Linked DNA regions of Homo sapiens: region 1 is linked to region 2. Evidence: promoter capture Hi-C in human tissues and cell types (Jung and others, 2019). All regions are on one chromosome and are shown on one strand. The core of a region is centred on a gene start or on the middle of the fragment in contact, and the rest is flanking DNA. Distances in the headings are between cores, read along the strand shown. Region 1 overlaps ZC3H7A (zinc finger CCCH-type containing 7A). Region 2 holds the start of SOCS1 (suppressor of cytokine signaling 1).

The links. The method cuts DNA at HindIII sites, captures the fragments that hold promoters and counts their contacts. A contact is called where the count stands out against the background at its distance.
Region 1: a fragment that was not itself captured here is called in contact with the fragment with the promoter of SOCS1 in region 2 in 1 of the 25 tissues and cell types used here (aorta).

What each region holds. Positions count from the first base shown.
Region 1 is chr16:11,774,495-11,779,649 of GRCh38, reverse strand. It overlaps ZC3H7A (zinc finger CCCH-type containing 7A), which reads left to right. Exons shown (of 23, transcript NM_014153.4): 4 at 287-484; 5 at 2,741-2,899; 6 at 3,118-3,198; 7 at 3,292-3,330; 8 at 4,637-4,670; 9 at 5,131-5,155. Among named protein-coding and RNA genes, the nearest start is that of ZC3H7A, 20 kb to the left of the region's middle. The HindIII fragment of the contact is 4,281 bases long and covers 1-3,898 here.
Region 2 is chr16:11,252,154-11,257,517 of GRCh38, reverse strand. It overlaps SOCS1 (suppressor of cytokine signaling 1), which reads left to right and starts at 1,314. Exons shown (of 2, transcript NM_003745.2): 1 at 1,314-1,439; 2 at 1,990-3,101. The coding sequence starts at 2,040. The coding sequence ends at 2,675. All of the region lies in intron 1 of LOC105371082 (a long non-coding RNA gene), which reads right to left. RefSeq lists silencers at 669-868, 1,119-1,858, 1,959-2,008, 2,019-2,168, 2,579-2,668 and an enhancer at 3,279-3,448. The HindIII fragment of the contact is 22,451 bases long and covers 1-5,364 here.

The sequences.
Region 1 (5,155 bases), core at 509-3,008, 520 kb before region 2:
TGGTTTCTCTAGCGGGCACAGAATTGGAGATGTGAACAAATATTTATAAGGTACTTTGCTGCATTTTTCTTAATAGTGAGAAATTGAATTTCCCCTTGAAAAAGCAAGCAAGATTCAATCCCTAGCTGAGATAGCAGTGACTTGGGCTGCATCTCACAATTTCTTAGAGCAATGCTGCTGTTCTGTCACATTGTTTCCTGTGAAGTTTTAGGTATAAAAATTAAAATTTACTTATACCATATCTTGTTTGATAAAAGGCTTCAAGTGGTAACTTTCTTTTTTTTAGGTATATTTGCGTGCTCTCGTGAGAAATCTTTTTAATGAAGGAAATGACGTTTATCGGGAACATGATTGGAACAACTCGATAAGCCAGTACACGGAAGCCTTGAATATAGCTGATTATGCAAAATCTGAAGAAATTTTAATCCCCAAAGAAATAATTGAAAAACTATATATAAATCGTATTGCCTGCTATTCTAATATGGTGAGTTGTAATTTTTAAAATGATGTTTCTAGAGTGAAAAGAATTTTTTCAATGACTTAGTACATTAATAAAAAGTCAATTTCTTAAGTTTTTAAGAAAGTCATATTACCTGCTTTTGGAGTGGCTTGAGGCTTTTAAAAATTAGCTTTGGATTGGCCGGGCACGGTGGCTCACGCCTGTAATCCCAGCACTTTGGGAGGCCAAGGTGGGTGGATCATGAGGTTAGGAGTTTGAGACCAGCCTGGCCAATATGGTGAAACCCCGTCTCTACTAAAAATAAAAAAATTAACTGGGCATGGTGGCGTGTGCATGTAGTCCCAGCTGCCCGGGAGGCTGAGGCAGGAGAATCGCTTGAACCCAGGAGGCGAAGCTTGCAGTGAGCCGAGATTGTGCCACTGCACTCCAGCCTGGGCGACAGAGCAAGACTCCGTCTCAAAAAATAAAATAAAATAAAAAAATAAAAATTAGCTTTGGACAGAAGGTTAGGGATTTAAGAAATAATTTGTTTCTTAGTTATTGGTCCTTGATGATTCCCATTTGAGTATGGCTTTTGAAGGTGTGTCTGCTTATAAAAAAGTCATCCAGGGAAGATACAGGTCTTCACAGGTCAGTGTGTCTTTCAGGTATCCCTGTTCACAGTTAACATCTTAGTCAAGATCCAGTTGATCTTGTAAAACACTCTTGGTAAAAAACACTCTTACGAGTGTTTTTTTTTTTTTTTTTTTTTTTGAGACAGTGTCTCGCTCTGTCACCCAGGCTGGAGTGCAGTGGCACGATCTCGGCTCACTGCAACCTCCGCCTCCTGGGTTCAAGCAATTTTCCTGCCTCGGCCTCCCGAGTAGCTGGGACTACAGGCGCATGCCGCCGTGCCCAGCAAATTTTTTGTATTTTGTTAGAGATGGGGTTTCACTGTGTTGCCCAGGCTGTTCTCGATCTCCTGAATTCAGGCAATCTGCCCGCCTCAGCCTCCCAAAGTGCTAGGATTACAGGCGTGAGCCACCGTGCCTGGCGAGTGTTTTTTTAAATCAAGAAATAGTAATTAGTCTTCAAAGGAATTCACACTAGATTTTCACATTTTTAAGCTTAAAAGCTTTTGAAGTGCTTTTTTTTCTTTTTTTCCTTTTAAAACTTTTTTTTTTTTTTTTGAGACAAGAGTTTCACTCTTGTTGCCCAGGCTGGAGTGCAATGGCACAATCTTGGCTCACCGTAACCTCCGTCTCCCGGGTTCAAGAGATTCTCCTGCCTCAGCTTCCCGAGTAGCTGAGATTACAGGCATGTACCACCACACCTGGCTAATTTTGTATTTTTAGTAGAGACGGGGTGTCTCCATGTCGGTCAGGCTGGTCTCGAACTCCTGACCTCAGGTGATCTGCCCGCCTCAGCCTCCCAAAGTGCTGGGATTACAGGCATGAGCCACCACGCCTGGCCACCTTTTTTAAATTTTTGAGATGGAGTGTCACTCTGTTGCCCAGGCTGTAATGCAGTGGCACAATCTCGGCTTACTGTATCCTCTGTCTCCTGGGTTCAAGTGATTTTCCTGCTTCAGCCTCCCGAGTGCTGGGATTATAGGCACCCGCCACCACGCCTGGCTAATTTTTGTATTTTTAGTAGAGATGGGGTTTTTACCATGTTGGCCAGGCTGGTCTCGAACTCCTGACCTCAGGTGATCCACCCACCTCGGCCTCCCAAAGTGCTGGGACTACAGCTGTGAGGCACTGTGCCCAACCTGAAGTGCTTTTAATTTTCACTGTGGATACTCGGTAAAATATAACCATGAATTTAAGAAAAATATCCGTGTTGTCACCTAGCTCTTTGTTAAAGAGCATTCATTGTTTATTTATTTTGTTTTGGGTAATATATTCCTTATCAGTTAGCTGTTTGGAGTTACGTTTCTGTTTGACATCTTAATGTGCTCCAGCAAAGGGTAACTACAGAGGAGCGAATAGGAGAGGGACACATGGGGACATCAGTTAGGTCTGGAAAGCTTTATTTCTTGAAGATCTGGGGACTTTCTGACCAAATATTAGCATTTGTCTGACCTGGATGGTGTGTACATGGGTATTCATGATATTCTTTCTACTTTTTTGTATTTGAAATTTCATAAAATAATTTAAAAAATAAAAGTAATACTGCTAACTTGGAGTTTAGAGGGAGGGTAATAGGATGGGGTATTAATTTGTTTTTATTACAGGAAGGCCTCAGTGCAAGAAATGAATTGTTTGATTGCTGACTTTATTCTTTGGTCTTACACACCAGGGTTTCCATGATAAAGTTTTGGAGGACTGCAATATAGTCCTCAGTTTAAATGCCAGTAACTGCAAAGCTCTGTATCGGAAATCTAAGGCTTTAAGTGATTTAGGAAGATACAAAAAGGCTTACGATGCTGTAGCAAAGTGCTCCTTAGCAGTGCCTCAGGTATGGAATTTATAGTTTATTTGTTTACATCGTAACCATTTACATCATAATAAATGGCATTTAAAGAGTTAAATTTTCCAGTCATCCATCAACCTGCTTCAGTTGGGTATAAATGCTAATGAAGCAGGTGTCTTGATGGGAAACTTCCCTGTTTTGTCTATTCTTCTTCACCATTAGTAAATATAACCCTGTTAATTATACATACTTATTTTTTTCAGGATGAGCATGTAATAAAACTAACTCAAGAACTAGCTCAGAAATTGGGATTTAAAATAAGAAAAGCGTATGTCAGAGCTGAGGTAAGCTGGAGTTCTCTGCATAAGGTGTTTTCATTTTGTTTTAGAACTTGGAGTCAGTTCTGTTTTTAAATTAGTGTCTTTATTTTATTTCAGCTCTCATTAAAATCAGTTCCTGGGGATGGGGCTACCAAGGTAAAGTTATTTTTTCTGTCAAAATTATATTTTTTTTTAAAGGGAAGGATGGGAGCAATTCTACTTTTAGTATTTTTGGTGTGTGTTTATTTTTGGAACCTTTTTAATTCCTCAAACACGTAATTGGCAATACCCTCCTGTCACTTTATTTATTTTTTTGAGACAGAGTCTTGTTCTGTTGCCCAGGCTGGAGTGCAGTGTCCTGATCTTGGCTCACTGCAACCTCCACCTCCTGGGCTCAAGTGATCCTCCCACCTCAGCCTCCCGAGTAGCTGGGACCACAGGCACACACCACCATGGCCTGTTAAATTTTTGTATTTTTTGTAGCGATGGGGTTTCACCATGTTGCCCAGGCTGGCCTCAAACTCCTGAGCTCAAGTGTTCCTCCTGCCTTGGCCTCCCACCAAATGCTGGGATCACAGGCGTGAGCCATCTCTTCTGGCCTCTTCTAGTCACTTTACAAAAGAACATCTACAACTCAAGTAATATATTTTAGCTGTAACCAGCATTTCCTGAATGCTCCAGTGGGGCATTTTATAGGATGTTAATAGATGTTAGGTTTCAGTGCAATAAGAGTGGTTCAGGGCCAAATACTAGTTTTGGGAGTCATTTGTGATAAAATTAACAAAGGGTTTTTTTTTGTTTTTGTTTTTAATTTTAAAATTAAAATTTTCTTGGGGCTAATAGGATGCTAATGGCTATTGTGAGTTGGGCAATGATTGGTGGCCAAATTCATCCCTGTTATTCTGCTGAATAGCCTTTGAGAAATGCTGGTCCACGAGAAATAAGTGGCAGCACTGCTAGACCAGCACCTCACCTAACACCACATGTATACAGGTTTGCGTGTTCCATTCATTTCTTGGATCTTAATTGGGAGTTGAATTTCTGTGGAAACCTGCATTGTTCTCTTAGGGTGAGTTTTTTCTTTTTTTCTTTTTTTTTTTTTTCCAAGACAGAGTCTCGCTCTGTCACCTAGGCTGGAGTGCAGTGGCGCTATCTCAGCTCACTGCAGCCTCCACCTCCCGGGTTCAAGCAGTTCTCTTGCCTCAGCCTCCTGAGTAGCTGGGATTACAGATGCCTGCCACCATGCCTGGCTAATTTTTGTATTTTTAGTAGAGACAGGGTTTCACCATGTTGGCCAGGCTGGTCTCAAACTCCTGACCTCGTGATCTGCCTGTCTCGGCCTCCCCAGGTGCTGGGATTACAGGCGTGAGCCACTGTGCCCGGCCTAGGGTGAGTTTTACTGATTGTTTTATGGCTTAGAGTCCTGAAAATATTATAACCCATTGTTTGGTTTAATTTCTAGGCTTTGAACCATTCTGTGGAAGATATTGAGCCAGGTATGTTTTCACATATCATCTTAACAATTTGAATAGTGCCAGCTTTGTACCTGATGTCTTTGTATGTGATGTATTGTCAAATAATATCGCTGTGTGGTTATATTCATATTAATGTATTAATATGAAAGTGAAAATGATTTCCAATGCTCCCTTTGTGCCTTTGGATGTGCCAGTGAGTGACTGAAAAGTGTTGGATGTTAGTAAGCAATCACTGACACCCACTGTGGCCTTGCCACTGTCTGATAGCTGTGCCCAAAGAGAGATACAGGCATTTTGTGAAAGAAGGATAAGTTTTCACACGTGACTGTATCTGTTTGGAATTGCTTTACTATACTGTCAATTTTATTATTTTTATAATTGCCTTCATATTTTCATCTTTGTATCTCTATTATTGGGGATTAATGGTATTATTATGTAAGTACGATGAAAGTGACTGAGTACATTTCCATCTGTGTTACAGATTTATTAACTCCAAGGCAAGAAGC
Region 2 (5,364 bases), core at 65-2,564:
GAGGCGGGAAGGGACTGGGCACCAGGGCTTCCAGGAGAGAAGCCGTCTGAGAGCTGTCTGTAGAGGGCAGTGTGTCCCAGTGTGAGGCCAGTAACCAAGTGCCCAGCCTAGCCAGGTTTTTATGTGGCCCCTTGTGATGCTGGGGCTCCTCACATGCCTTCATTCAAAAATACACGGAGCAGCCAGGCACCTACTCCATGGCCTCGCACGACAATCGGAATCACTAAATCACAAACACGTGTGCAAATTACAGCCCCGACCACCGACCGCCCACCATCCCAAGCCCCGGCCGTGTGTGTGGTGGGAAGGCAGTCTTTGAAGGGCAGATGCCTGACGGAGCAGTAGGAGGGGGAAATCTATGAGGAAGGGGTCGGGGGAGAGGAGGGCTAGGAAACCAGGTTTGGGGATTCATCACGTCTGAGAATGCACCATTTTTTCACTGGGCTCCAATTTGATGTCGTCCAGCTGCACCTCTCCCCAAAATGAAGACGGGGAAGGCGAGATCCAGGTCCAGAGCTCCCAATCTGCAAGCCATTGCAAATCCCAGCCCCTCCCCAGCCTCAGTTTCTTCCGCAGCCGGGTAGTGGGAGCGCAGGGAGGGCAGTCGAGGCCACCAGGGACCTTGCCCGGCCCCGCCCAGTTTCCGAGGAACTGGGCCGGGGTGGAGGCGCCCGCGCCGCCAGGGGTTCCTCTGAAGCCTGTGGTCAGGCCGCCGCTTCCCGGGAAGCCCGAGCCAAGACCAGAGACCGCGGCCGGCCGGGGCTTCGGGACAGCAGGGCGGGCGACTGAGGGCGTCGACGGCGGGTGGAGCAGGGGCTAGGAGGGGGTCTACGGGTGGGGTCAGGCTCAGGGTTGGGGACACCTTCTGTGGCCTCCTAGGGGGATCTGGCTGCAGGGGAGGAGAGGACAGGGCTCTGCCCCCGGCGGGTGTGGAGACAGCTGGGGCGGAGGAGGGTGTGTCAGGGCGCGTCCCAAGAGGGCCTGGCGGCAGAAAGTGGAACCCGAGGTAGCGGGGCAAAATCGGGGTCGCCAAGTCCGAAGGAGGGGTCCGAGAAGTGGCCGGAAGGCGCAGGGTCGGGGCCAGAGCCCCTCGAGAGGCGGGTGCTGGGGCAGGTGCGAACAGGCGGGCAGAGGGCCCCGCGGGAGGGTCCAGAAGAGAGGGAAACAGGGCCGAAGCGGTCCTCGCCGGACGCCACCGCGGAAAGAGAAACCAAAAGTGGAGCTGGGGGCGGGGCCGGCAGGGGGCGGGGCCTCCCGCCGTCGCCAGCCCCGCCTCCGAGCCGGTTTAAAAGACTGGCGCAGGGGCGGGCGCCGAACAGAGCGAGCTGCGGCCGTGGCAGCTGCACGGCTCCTGGCCCCGGAGCATGCGCGAGAGCCGCCCCGGAGCGCCCCGGAGCCCCCCGCCGTCCCGCCCGCGGCGTCCCGCGCCCCGCCGCCAGGTGAGCCGGGCCCTGGGCGAGGAGGCGGGAGGGAGGAGGGAGGGGAGTCCAGGGCAGCCAGGAGTCGGGCGAGCCTCGGGGGCTGCAGAATGGGGTCGCGGCCGCGATGCCCCTGACCCTCGCCGGCCCCACCCAGGCCGCCCCCCGCGCGCGGGGCTCCCGCAGCACAGCCTTTCTCCGGCCCTAGCCCAAATCGCCCAGACCAGGCGCGGATCCCAGCCTGGCCAGCAGGCGGCGGGCGCGGGGCGGCGAGCCGGGGCCGGACGGCTGGAGCCAGAACCGGCTGCTCTCCACGCCCCCCTCTCGGTGCTGCCCGGAGGCCGGACTCCGCCTCCACCGAGCCCCCACCCGCCGGGAAGAGCTCCGCGGAGTACAGAGCCCATTTTCTAGCTGTGTCCACTGAGGCTGAACGGATCCGCGCGGACTTGGTGCTCCGTGCTCGCCCCCTAGGGCCGGGTCCGCCGGGAGCGCCGCCCTCCGGAGTTGTCCGGCCGGCGCACACCTGCCCGGCCCCGCAGCGCCCCAGCTCACCTCTTTGTCTCTCCCGCAGCGCACCCCCGGACGCTATGGCCCACCCCTCCGGCTGGCCCCTTCTGTAGGATGGTAGCACACAACCAGGTGGCAGCCGACAATGCAGTCTCCACAGCAGCAGAGCCCCGACGGCGGCCAGAACCTTCCTCCTCTTCCTCCTCCTCGCCCGCGGCCCCCGCGCGCCCGCGGCCGTGCCCCGCGGTCCCGGCCCCGGCCCCCGGCGACACGCACTTCCGCACATTCCGTTCGCACGCCGATTACCGGCGCATCACGCGCGCCAGCGCGCTCCTGGACGCCTGCGGATTCTACTGGGGGCCCCTGAGCGTGCACGGGGCGCACGAGCGGCTGCGCGCCGAGCCCGTGGGCACCTTCCTGGTGCGCGACAGCCGCCAGCGGAACTGCTTTTTCGCCCTTAGCGTGAAGATGGCCTCGGGACCCACGAGCATCCGCGTGCACTTTCAGGCCGGCCGCTTTCACCTGGATGGCAGCCGCGAGAGCTTCGACTGCCTCTTCGAGCTGCTGGAGCACTACGTGGCGGCGCCGCGCCGCATGCTGGGGGCCCCGCTGCGCCAGCGCCGCGTGCGGCCGCTGCAGGAGCTGTGCCGCCAGCGCATCGTGGCCACCGTGGGCCGCGAGAACCTGGCTCGCATCCCCCTCAACCCCGTCCTCCGCGACTACCTGAGCTCCTTCCCCTTCCAGATTTGACCGGCAGCGCCCGCCGTGCACGCAGCATTAACTGGGATGCCGTGTTATTTTGTTATTACTTGCCTGGAACCATGTGGGTACCCTCCCCGGCCTGGGTTGGAGGGAGCGGATGGGTGTAGGGGCGAGGCGCCTCCCGCCCTCGGCTGGAGACGAGGCCGCAGACCCCTTCTCACCTCTTGAGGGGGTCCTCCCCCTCCTGGTGCTCCCTCTGGGTCCCCCTGGTTGTTGTAGCAGCTTAACTGTATCTGGAGCCAGGACCTGAACTCGCACCTCCTACCTCTTCATGTTTACATATACCCAGTATCTTTGCACAAACCAGGGGTTGGGGGAGGGTCTCTGGCTTTATTTTTCTGCTGTGCAGAATCCTATTTTATATTTTTTAAAGTCAGTTTAGGTAATAAACTTTATTATGAAAGTTTTTTTTTTAAAAAAAAATAAGTTTTCTAGCGAGTGTGCTTTGGCCAAAAGTTTAACTTGGTTCTGAACAGGTCCAGGGGAGAGGGTCCTAAGGCTGACCTGCTGGGCTGCAGGTGGTGTACGGGGCCTGCCCTGTGGCTGGGCATCCCTCACGGTTCCACCCACAACTCTCCAGGGAGAGAAACGGTTGGTCTAGTTTTGGCGTGTGTCCGGTAAGACAGCAGCTCGCGTTTGAGCACTTTGTGCGTGCCAGCCCTAATTCTGTGCTTTGCATACTTAAATTTACTTAATCCTATAAAGAGAGGCACAACCCTGTGAGGCACGGGCTCTTATTTCCATTCTACAGAAGGGAAAACTGAGTAAATCTGCCTGTGGCCATTCCTGTCAAAGACAACACTTGGGCCTTTTTTTGGCTGTCCACTAAACATCTGCTTGAAATGGATAACAGAGAGGAAACTTCTTTGGTTCTATGACCACAACAGCTTCCAGGAAGGGGTGGGGGTGGGGGCTTAGTGAGTTTTTGGACAGAGGAGTGGCACATTCTGAACCAGCATCAAGGGATACTCAGTTGAGATGAGATGGGGGATACAGGGCTGGGTCTAGCTTCCTTCTTCTCACCCTGCTCTGTCTTGTGTACTTTTTGGTGAACACACAACTTGGAGCCAGAAGGAGACTGTGTGGTCTGTGGTGGCGGGAGGGTGCTGCTGGCGGCTAGGGCAATTCCCCTTGCCTCCCTGGGCCTCCACCTTTCTAAGGGCAACTTTCTGCGCATCATAGAGGAGGTGGATGTTTTCAGGAGCCAGGGAAGGGAAGAGTGGCTCCAGGACGTTTGTGGGGCTGGCCCACAGCACCAGAAAGTGTCCAGGACCTGGGTTTCTGGCAACTTCTGTGTCTTTGGCCAGCCTGACACATGGGCCATGGTGGTAACTTGAGGGTTGTACTCAACACATGGTGAACTGAGTCATTTTCAGATTTAGGGTTAAGCAGCCTGGTGGACACGTCATACTTCATCTTTAGAAGATAGAGTGGCCCTCTTCAGCCTTGGAGACACATATAATAGTGTTCTAATGCTTAATAATACTTTTCAGACTTGAAAGTACAACATAAAATTAACTTGATGGTCAGAGAGTCAGAGCAGCCCAGGCCTGTCTTGGGGATTAAGTAGGCTCCAGGACTTTAAGGATGGCCAGAAGAGATTTAGGATCTCAGAGAGCTTTGGCAATTTCATCCCTTAATAAGGTGAAGTGGGAGGGAAGGAGGTGATGTCTTGTCTCTATCTCCAAAAATCTTGCTTTTTCTTTTCTTTTCTTTTCTTTTCTTTTCTTTTTTTTTTTTTGCCACACCCCTGCCCTTTCTTCTCTGCTGTGGATTAATTAAGTCCTGTCCTTGTTCTTTCCTGTCTGTTGCCTGCTGTGGGCAGTGTCTGGAGAAACAGAAATCCAAGATGGCAATGCTTGGGGATCTGGTTGTAATACTAGTATACTCACAGACCCTTAGTGACCACTCAGTGGCTGTGCTGGCCCCATTTTACAGATGGGAAAACGGGCTCCAAGAGGCAAAGCAGGACCACAACAAGGGGTGGAGCCAGGTTTTGCAAACCCACTCAGGACTTTTTCAGAGGCTGGGTACCACTAGGCAACCGGAGGACCTAACCGCTGCAGTAATAATAGCAGCTGCTCATATTTCTATGTAGCATTGTCTGTGCAGGAACTGCTCCCAGGTCCCGCATCACCTGTGTAAAACATTGAACTCACACCCAGCCTTCCGATGTAGGGACTGTGAACATCCCCGTTTTACAGATGGGAAAACAGGTCCTCCTCAAAAGAGGGGTCAGCTAGCAGGTAGCTTGCAATATGTTACAGTTTTTTTTCCTCCTTTGAAAAAAGTATGAAAATCGTATTTTCCTTACGCAAGTGTTGGGTATCCAAACCCATTCCCCTTGCAGAACTTGAAGCAGAACAGCTAAGAGTAAAGGCCCCCTCTGATCACACTTCCCAGAGCTGGCCCCTTCCTCCCTTTATGAGTCACTTAAATCCATACTAACATAGGTACAGTGACCTAAAGCCCTGGGAGCTGCACCCCACGTCCCGTGTGACAAAGTGTGTGCAGGCATCACTGAAGGGGGAAAAGGCTGTGTGTGTGTGTGTGTGTGTGTGTGTGTTTGTGTGTGTGCGCGCGCACCAGCGCCATGTGGCTTCCCGGGTGGTGCAGATTCTGTCTCTCTCTCAAACCTCAGCTTCATGATTCAGCAGCGCTGACGTCAATTTACAAG